Linked DNA regions of Homo sapiens: regions 2 and 3 are each linked to region 1. Evidence: promoter capture Hi-C in human tissues and cell types (Jung and others, 2019). All regions are on one chromosome and are shown on one strand. Each heading gives the region's core, a stretch centred on a gene start or on the middle of the fragment in contact. The rest is flanking DNA. Distances are from core to core; before and after follow the strand shown. Region 1 holds the start of DECR2 (2,4-dienoyl-CoA reductase 2). Region 2 overlaps NPRL3 (NPR3 like, GATOR1 complex subunit). Region 3 holds the start of NPRL3 (NPR3 like, GATOR1 complex subunit).

Region 1 (3,118 bases), core at 199-2,698:
AAGATTAATTTTGGGCCAGGTGCAGCGTCTCACTCCTGTCATCCCAGCACTTTGGGAGGCCGAGGCAGGTGGATCATCTGAGGTCAGGAGTTCCAGACCAGCCTGACCAACATGGTGACACTCACCTCTACTAGAAATACAATTAGCCCAGCGTGGTATTGTGTGCCTATAGTCCCACTTGGGCGCACTGAGGCTGAAGCAGGAGAATTGGGAGGCTGAGGCAGGAGAATTGCTTCAACCCAGAATGAGACTCCGTTTCGAAAAAAAACTTTTTTTTTTTCCTGCAGAACACTCAGAGAGAATTGTCAATACCTGTCCTTGGAGAACATAATTTAAAACTTGTTTTCTTTTTTTGAGATGGAGTTTCACTCTTGTTGCCCAGTGCAATGGTGCGATCTCGGCTCACTGCAACCTCCACCTCCCGAGTTCAAGTGATTCTCCTGCCTCAGCCTCCCAAGTAGTTGGGATTACAGGTGTGCGCCACCACACCCGGCTAATTTTTTGTATTTTTAGCAGAGACGGGGTTTCACCATGTTGGCCAGGCTGGTCTCGAACTCCTGACCTCTGGTGATCTACCCGCTTCGGCCTCCCAAAGAGCTGGGATTACAGGCGTGAGCCACTGCTCCTGGCAAAAGATCAAAATTTTAATAGAAACTTGAAAATGTTGCCAATTGAAAAAAAGAAAAGGAAAAAAAAAAAAGGATCCGCCCATTAGCCGAGTGAGGGCAGGTGACCGGGGAGGATCGACCTTTGCCCGGGCTGCCTTCTCTTGTGAACACCAAGGCGTTTGCAGGAAAATGAAGAGCTGCTGGGCAAAACCTGGCATTCCTGGGCCTTCTGGGTCTTCCGGAAAAATGATTTCAACCTAAAATTTTCTGTTAAGAAAGAGGCCAGGTTGGGCCGGGCGCGGTGGCTCACGCCTGTAAATCCCAGCACTTTGGGAAGCCGAGGCGGGTGGATCACCTGAGGTCAGGAGTTCGAAAAGAGCCTGACCAACACGGTGACACCCCCTCTCTACTAAAAATAAAAATTAGCCGGGCTGAGGCAGGAGAATCGCTTGAACCCGGGAGGCAGAGTTTGCAGTGAGCGGAGATCGTGCCACTGCACTCCAGCCTGGGCGACACAGCGAGATTCCGTCTCAAAAAAAAAAAAAGAAAGAAAAAAGAAAGAAAGGAGCCAGGCAAGACAGGTTTCCTAACACGCGAGCCCTCGGGGACCACGTGGGGGCGCCGGCGCCCGCGGACCGGACCCCGCACCAAGGCTGCGCTCGCTTCCCAGGCCCCGCTCACCGCAGCAGGTCCGGGCAGAAGAGGTGGCGGTACGCGGGGAGACAGTCGTCCCCCTCCACGTCGGGCGGCGGCTGGGCCATGGCGCTCCCGTCGGGGACTGCGGGGACAACGGGCGGGAGCGGCCTCGGCCTCCAGGACCCGGCGCGCAGCTGCGAACTCGCCTGGAACCGGGAGCCCCGCCCCACTCCCCGGACGCCCCGCCCCTGCCCTGATTGCTTCCCGGAGGCCCCGCCCCTCCCCCGAATTCTCCCCGGAGGCCCCGCCCCCGCCCGCGGCCTGCTGGGACTGGAAGTCGGCGCGCGAGGCGCAGGCGCATTGCGGGGCCGGGGGCGCGGTTCCCGCGGCAGAAGCTCGGCGGTCTGCGGGTCTCCTCCCCGAGTCTTTTTCACAGGTATTCGGCGTCAGCGCCGCGTTCAGAGCCTCCAGGACTTGTGGGATACCCCTGGCTCCTGGGTCCAGGCCAGGCTCGCAGCCTCTGGGCTCCCCGTTCGCCTCCCCGTAAACACCATGGGGAGGGCCGGGGCCCAGGGAAGCGCGGCCAGCCCCGCGCCGCTTCCCAAAATGACCCGTTTTGAGGCCAATAAAGAAGGGTCCGGGGCCGGGCGCGGTGGCTCACGCCTGTAATCCCAACACTTTGGGAGGCCGAGGCGGGCGGATCACGAGGTCAGGAGTTCGAGACCATCCTGGACAACATGGCGAAACCCCCTCTTTACTAAAAATACAAAAATTAGCCGGGCATTGTGGCGGGTGCCTGTAGTTCCATCTACTCGGGAGGCTGAGGCAGGAGAATCGCTTGAACCCGGGAGGCGGAGGTTGCAGTGAGCCGAGATCGCGCCACTGCACTCTATCCTGGGCGACAGAGCGACACTCCGTTTCAAAAACAAAAACAAAAAAAAAAGGGTCCGTTACTTCTGTTCCGCGTGGGGGCCCGGGCGGGGCTATGCCGCGAACCCAGGACGGGGCGCCCCGCCCGCACCACTGTTGGAAGACGGGGGTCCGCGACGGCCACGGGGGAAAAACACGCAGGGCCGCTCCTGAGCTGAACACACCCGCGGGCCAGCGGCTTCAGGGGCGTGACAGAGCCGCCAGCGCTACAGTAATGGCTGCCAGGCCCTTTCTGCGCTGGTTGGCCTCAGCCCGCCGGCCCCTCTCTGCCCCTTCCCCGGGAAGGCAGCTTCTCCTTTGGCGGGATCACAGCACCGGCTCGCGCCTAGCTTGGGTTCTCCGGATTGCAGGCTGGTGGTCTCTGGACCCCTGCCTGGCTCATACATCCAACAACGTTATGGAACTGGGTGTGCAAAACTTCCTCTTTACTGTTCAACTCCTTACAACTTGCATAAAGGCGTCATTTCTACCTCAGAGCTGGGGGAAGTCATAATTAGTGTACCACCCATGTGCTGGGCACAGTGAATTTTAATGCCTCCCCTTTAGAGGAGAGGTTATGATAATGTGAAGACCCCCCCCCACCACAAAGGTTGTCCGGCACTTTGGTGCAAAAAGGATTGGTCCAATCTTGTGCTGGCTTGGGGTACAGAAAGGCACTGAAGTTGGTGGCTCAAACTCCTCTGGGCTGGGGTGGGGCAGAGGTGAACAGGGAAGTAAGTGGTTTGGGACAGGCAGGTTTGGATGTGGGCTTGGGTTCTTGCTGACGGAGGTAGTTGGTCCTGCGTGGGGGATGGGGTGGTAAGGGCAGCTTGAGCCTCAGGCTGGGTGGATGCTGCTGTGCTGGCCCCCGTCTGCCCAGCTCACCAGCTCACTGCTCTGGAACCACAGCTGGATCTCCCGCTGGGCCCCCTCCACGGAGTCGCTGGCGTGGATGACATTCCTGT
Region 2 (3,118 bases), core at 312-2,811, 300 kb after region 1:
GTGAATATAGGCTGGGAATGTGAATCGCTCAGGAGGCCACCCCAACACTTGTGCCATACCTAGCACTTGTGTCTCCCTGTGGATCCCAGTGGCCCTCAGTGACAGCATGTCACTCATTCATATGACCATTGAATTGTGTCTCCCAGGAGGGCAGGGATGTCTCTTCACTTTCTGCAACACAGCCCCTACACTCAGCCTGTGGAGGAGCACAGCTCATCCGCTAGGGGTCGACGGAATGTGTGGGTGGGAATAACAGCAGTGTAGATTCCATGGAGTGTGAAGAAGTGATTTGCTGAATGGTTCTCCGAGTTAACAGGACCTGTGGTGGGGAGTGATGTCCAGGGTCTGGCTGGGTAGGTGGTACTTGGTGCGGAGCCTTGCACTGCAAACTGTCGAGAGCAGGGTTGGTCCCATGGACCCTCTGTGAATATCCTGAGTTGTAGTACCCATTTCCATAAAAATGCACCTATATATAAACTTTCGTTTGAAATTTCAAGGTAGGCTGTTTGGAACCCACATAGATCTTTTGGGTTATGCAGCATCCCACTACTTATGGTAGGAAGCCAGGCCCATCCGTGGGACCAGAGGATGCAGAGGTTTGCAGGATAGCTTCACAGGTCCTGTCTAGTTCTAAGGTTAGGAATGGATGCTTTCTCAGATGCTAAAAGCTGAGGGGACTAGACTAAGCTTGTGCACATTTCTGTCTTGGAGATGAACGGCGAGAGTGTGTTTGAAGCCAGCCATTCCCTTTTGCATAGTCATTGTCAGGATGCAGGGCTTTGGCTGGGGCACCTATCTCCTGTCACAGACTGGGCTGGGCCCTCTTGGCTGGCCCAGAGCTGTGTGAGGGGCTGGATAAGTCTTGAGGAGGACAGTGTTTTCCTCCAGAGTGTTTTCAGACCAAACCATTAAACACCTTGCAAATAGAAGTGCAAGCTCGGCAGGAAACCTTTCAGGGCCCAAACCCTGCTTGTGCTAAGGGCTCTTGTCTTAAAGCTGCAGACTTAAAAACAGTGACAAACCTTTCTCTTTCCCCTTGTTAACAGACCTCAGTGCAGCTCCTGGCTTACCCTCTTACTGTGGGGGATTTACAGGCTGGAGGTTGGGCCGGCACCTTTCCAGAGCAGTCATCCCTCTGACATGTTCAGGGAATTTGCCCAGGTCTGCCATGGCCTTTGGGGCACTCCTGGTGGCAGCACTTGTCACCGCTCTAGGGAGCTGGGTTAGTTCATAAAGAAGCACCAGCCTCAGTGCAGAGTGCTCTGAGGGAGAAAGCAGCAGGTGGGTGAGCTGATGCTTGGGAAAATGGAGTAAAGTCCACGTGGAAGTTAGAGGAACCAACATGGCGTGTCTCTGCCAGAGGAGAGGGCCCCATGCCAGTGTACAAACCAGACCACATGACTGCGGCTCCAAGGACAGCTGACACGGTGAGGGCAGCAGAGATGACCAAGCTGGGAAGTCACTAGAAGAACCTTCATGTGACCCTCCTGCCCTCATTTCTCCATACCCATAGCTGGAACTTGTTCCTGGCTTTCCATGAGGTGTGTTCCAAGCCCCTGTTCCTTTCCCTATAACTCTCTCCAGTTTCTAATGCTCCATACAATTTGATTACAATTAGGTGTCTTTTTTTTTAAACGTTAATTTCAATTTTTTTTGAGACAGGGTCTTGCTCTGTCACCCAGGCTGGAGTGCAATGGCGCGATCTCGGCTCACTGCAACCTCCGCCTCCTGGGTTCAAGTGATTCTCCTGCCTCAGCCTACCAAGTAGCTGGGATTACAGGCACCTGCCACCACACCTGGCTAATTTTTTTTTTTTTTTTTGAGATGGAGTTTCACTTTTGTTGCCCAGGCTGGAGTGCAATGGCACGATCTCAGCTCAGTGCAACCTCCGCCTCCGCCTCTACCTCCCAGGTTCAAGTGATTTTCCTGCCTCAGCCTTCCAAGTAGCTGGGATTACAGGCATGCACCACCACGCCCAGCTAATTTTGTACTTTTAATAGAGACGGGGTTTCTCCCTGTTGGTCAGTCTGGTCTCAAACTTCTGACCTCAGGTGATCTGCCCATCTCAGCCTCCCAAAGTGCTGGGATTACAGGTGTGAGCCACGGCACCCGGCCTAATATTTGTATTTTTAGTAGAGACAGGGTTTCACCATGTTGGCCAGGCTGGTCTCGAACTCCTGACCTCAAGTGATCGGCCTGCCTCGGCCTCCCAGGTTTTGGGATTACAGGCGTGAGCCGCCACGCCCGGCCAATTATGTGTCTGTCTAGATGCCGCTGAGTGAAGCCCCCAGCGTGCAGAGCAGCCAAGTTATTTTCTTCCCTGCTGCACTCCAAGTACCTAAACTGGTGCTGGGAGCCACAGCACATGTCATAAGGCCTCACTGTGCTCCTAGATGGAGCAAAGACAGCTACATTTGAAACAATAGGAGCCTCCGTATTCTGATTCTGTGGTGTCCCAACAGCCACTTTGAGCTGCATCCTAAATAGGACAGAAACAGAAAGGCCTTGGGTGGGTGCGGTGGCTCACGCCTGTAATCCTAGCACTTTGAAAAGCCAAGGTGGGAGGATCGCTTGAGCCCAGGAGTTTGAGACCAGCCTAGGCAACATAGACCCTGTCTCTACAAAAAAAAAAAAAAAAAAAAAAAAAAAAATCACCCCAGGCGTGATGTTGCACGTCTGTAGTCCCAGTTACTTGGGAGGTTGTCTTGAGCCTGGGAGATCAAGGCTGCAGTGAGCGGAGATGGCGCCACTGCACTCCAGCCTGAGCAACAGTGAGACCTTGTCTCAGAAAAAAGAAAAAAAAAATAGACCTTTTATTTCCAGTGGCCCTCCTTTCTGACCCAGATGGTGACAGCACAGTGCATGGGGCCACCTCTCGCTTGCCCTTTCTTCCCTGTCGCATACGGATGCCAAGATCCTAACTATTGCTTACTCAAGTTGAGTAACCTGGATCCCCTGGACAAATCTCTCCTGGTGTGATCTTTAATTCCTTAGCGGCTGGGACATTTCTCAGGGTTTGATACGAGTTTTTCACCCTGCAAAGACCCTGACCAAAGAGAGGTAAGGTTCTGGGAGCCTCTGTCTGCCCCGACATACTTGGTTAGCATGCAGTTCTGGA
Region 3 (3,118 bases), core at 311-2,810, 260 kb after region 1:
CCCAGGCTGGTCTGGAGTTCCTGGCCTCTCAGCGCTGGGGTCACAGGCGTAAGCCTCTACCAGTTGAGCTGAGCATCTTCTGGTGCTTATTGGCCATTTGCATAATGCACTGGAAAAATATTCATATCCTTTGTGCATTTTTCAATTGTCTTTTTATTGTTGAGTTGTAAGTTTCCTCCATTCTAGATACAATTCCCTTATCAGATATGTAACTTACAAATATTTTCTCCCGTTCTGTGGGTGGACTTTTAATTTTCTTGATGGTGTCCTTTAAAGCACCGAAGTTTTTGTTTTGTTTTGAGATGGAGTCTCGCTCTGTCGCCAGGCCAGAGTTCAGTGGCACGATCTCGGCTCACTGCAACCTCCGCCTCCCGGCTTCAAGCGATTCTCCTGCCTCAGCCTCCCGAGTAGCTGGGATTAGAAGCAGGCGCCGCCAAACCCAGCTAATTTTTGTATTTTTAGTAGAGAGACGGGGTTTTACCATGTTGGCCAGGATGGTCTAGATCTCCTGATCTCATGATCTGCCCACCTCGGCCTCCCAAAGTGCTGGGATTTCAGGCGTGAGCCACCGCGCCCGGCCGCAGTAAAGTTTTTAATCTGATGAAGTTTAATTTATTCTTCTGTAGTCGCTCCTGCCTTTAGTGTCACTGCCTCGCCCAAGGTCTCAAAGATCTCCTGTCGGCTTCCAAGTGTTTTTTTTTTTTTTTTTTTTTTTTGAGACGGAGTCTCGCTCTGTCGCCTAGGCTGTAGTGCAGTGGCGCAATCTCGGCTCACCGCAAGCTCCGCCTCCCGGGTTCAAGCGATTTTCCTGTCTCAGCCTCCCGAGTAGCTGGGATTACAGGCGCCCGCCACCACGCCCGGCTAATTTTTTTTTTTTTTTTTGTAGAGACGGGGTTTCACCATGTTGGCCAGGATGGTCTCGAACTCCTGACCTCGTGATTCACCCGCCTCGGCCTCCCAAAGTGCTGGGATTACAGGCGTGAGCCACCGCGCCCGGCCTTTTTTTTTTCTTTTTTCTTTCTTTCTTTCTTTTTTTTTTTTTTGATACGGGGTCTCGTCGCTCTGTCGCCCAGGGTGGAGTGCAATGGCGTGATCTTGGCTCAATGCAACCTCCGCCTCCCGGGTTCAAGCGATTCTCCTCTAGGATTACGGGCGCCTGCCACCACGCCCGGATAATTTCTTCTAATTTTTAGTAGAGATGGGGTTTCACTATGTTAGCTAGGATGGTCTCGATCTCCTGACCTCGTGATCCGCCCGCCTCGGCCTCCCAAAATGCTGGGATTACAGGCGTGAGCCACCGCGCCCCGCCCAAGTGTTATTTGTAAAACGAAGAAACCAACATCGAGAGGGACGCTGACTCGACCCCGCGCCTTTCCCATCCGCACCAGCAAGAGGGGCCCCTGTGCCCCAAACGCGAACCGTACGGCTCCAGACAGCACCGCGGAACTCGGTGGCTTCCAGAAGGCCCCGCGCCTGCGCATTCCGCTGCCTGCGCCTGCGCCTGCGCCTGCGCCGTTCTCCCGGCCGCCGCCTTAGCACCTCCTCCGGACGGTGTCGCCGAAGTCTCGCGAGCCCGGAGCGTGGCACGTGGGTTGGTAACTGTGGCGCTGCTCCGCGTCCACCACCACCCCTGTCCTCCTCAGGCCCCCTCCGCCTCCACCCCTGCCCTCCTCAGGCCCCCTCCGCCTCCACCCCTGCCCTACTCAGGCCCCCTCCGCCTCCACCCCTGCCCTCCTCAGGCCCCCTCCGCCTCCACCCCTGCCCTCCTCAGGCCCCCTCCGCCTCCACCCCTGCCCTCCTCAGGCCCCCTCCGCCTCCACCCCTGCCCTCCTCAGGCCCCCTGCGTCCCCGCCTCGTCCTCCTCAGGCCCCCTCCGCCTCCGGCTCCGTCCTCCTCAGGCCCCCTCCGCCTCCGGCTCCGTCCTCCTCTGGCCCCCTCCGCCCCCGGCCCCGGCCCCACGGCGGGATGCGGGACAACACCAGCCCCATCAGCGTGATTCTGGTGAGCTCGGGGAGCAGGGGCAATAAGCTGCTGTTCAGGTACCCCTTCCAGAGAAGCCAGGAGCACCCGGCGTCCCAGACAAGTAAGTGAGCGCTGGGCGGGGGCCTGGCGCTCGCGGGGGCCGCCTCATTCCGGGGTCGCCTCATTCCAGGGCCGCCTCGCGGAGCTTAGCTTTTGCTGGGCATTCGAGATCTGCTCGTTGTAGAGTATTTGAAAAGTAGAAAAAGGAAAAAAAAAATTAAAATCATGCATTGTTCACCACACCAAAGCAACTACTGCTGACATTTCATCAGTCTCCAGCCTTTAAAAAATAAAGTAAAATAAAATAAAATGAGTTTGGGATGTATTCATCATGAGAAAATACAAAATTACACGAACAAGGCCGGTGGCGGTAATCCCAGCACTTTGGGAGGCCGAGGCGGGTGGATCACCTGAGGTCAGGAGTTCGAGACCAGCCTGGCCAACATGGTTGAAACTCTGTCTCTACTGAAAAAATAAAAATAAAAAAAAACAAATTAGCCGAGCGTGGTGGTGCGTGCCCATAATCCTAGCTACTTGGGAGGCTGAGGCAGGAGAATTGCTTGAACCCGGGAGGCGGAGGTTTCAGTGAACCGAGATCGCGCCACTGGATTCCAGCCTGGGCAACAGAGCAAGACTCCGTCTCAAAAAAAAAAAAAAAAGTTACGTGAACATCTGAAGTTGTCTTTGCCACCCCCAGTTCTAGCAAGCACAGGGATCACCCCTGGCCGTGTTGGGAGTTGTCTGCCCTGTGCATAGATGCAGATCTATCCACAGGAAAAGGGAACGTCGCGTGAGGTTTTTCATCGCACGAATTGTTCTGTGGCGCCCTTTTCCCATAGTCGGCCTTGGAGCTCCGTCTGCCTTTGCAAGCAGGGATCAACCTCACCCTTGGCTGCAGGCTGCTGCCTTCCCCTGTGGACGGCATGTAGGTTACTTTTGATTTTTCATCATCATGAATGTTCAGTTTTTGTTTTTATTTTATTTATTTTTTGAGACGGAGTCTCACTCTGTCGCCCAGGCTGGAGTTGAGTGGCGTGATCTCGGCTCACTGCAGCCTCCACCTCCCGGGCTCAAGGGATTCTCCTGCCTCAGCCTC

The links. The method cuts DNA at HindIII sites, captures the fragments that hold promoters and counts their contacts. A contact is called where the count stands out against the background at its distance.
Region 2: a contact is called between a fragment that was not itself captured here and the fragment with the promoter of DECR2 in region 1, in 1 of the 25 tissues and cell types used here (dorsolateral prefrontal cortex).
Region 3: the fragment with the promoter of NPRL3 here is called in contact with the fragment with the promoter of DECR2 in region 1 in 2 of the 25 tissues and cell types used here (dorsolateral prefrontal cortex and lymphoblastoid cells).

Annotation. Positions count from the first base shown.
Region 1 is chr16:400,215-403,332 of GRCh38, reverse strand. It overlaps DECR2 (2,4-dienoyl-CoA reductase 2), which reads right to left and starts at 1,448. Exons shown (of 9, transcript NM_020664.4): 1 at 1,290-1,448. The coding sequence starts at 1,369. NME4 (NME/NM23 nucleoside diphosphate kinase 4) reads right to left here. Exons shown (of 5, transcript NM_005009.3): 5 at 2,579-3,114. The coding sequence ends at 2,991. RefSeq lists enhancers at 1,883-2,468, 2,316-2,625. The HindIII fragment of the contact is 11,138 bases long and covers 1-2,681 here.
Region 2 is chr16:102,830-105,947 of GRCh38, reverse strand. The region is part of intron 7 of NPRL3 (NPR3 like, GATOR1 complex subunit); the gene reads left to right. Among named protein-coding and RNA genes, the nearest start is that of MPG, 26 kb to the right of the region's middle. The HindIII fragment of the contact is 7,021 bases long and covers 1-3,118 here.
Region 3 is chr16:137,115-140,232 of GRCh38, reverse strand. NPRL3 (NPR3 like, GATOR1 complex subunit) reads left to right here and starts at 1,560. Exons shown (of 14, transcript NM_001077350.3): 1 at 1,560-1,591; 2 at 1,899-2,083. The coding sequence starts at 1,966. RefSeq lists an enhancer at 1,631-1,680 and a silencer at 1,901-2,130. The HindIII fragment of the contact is 17,392 bases long and covers 1-3,118 here.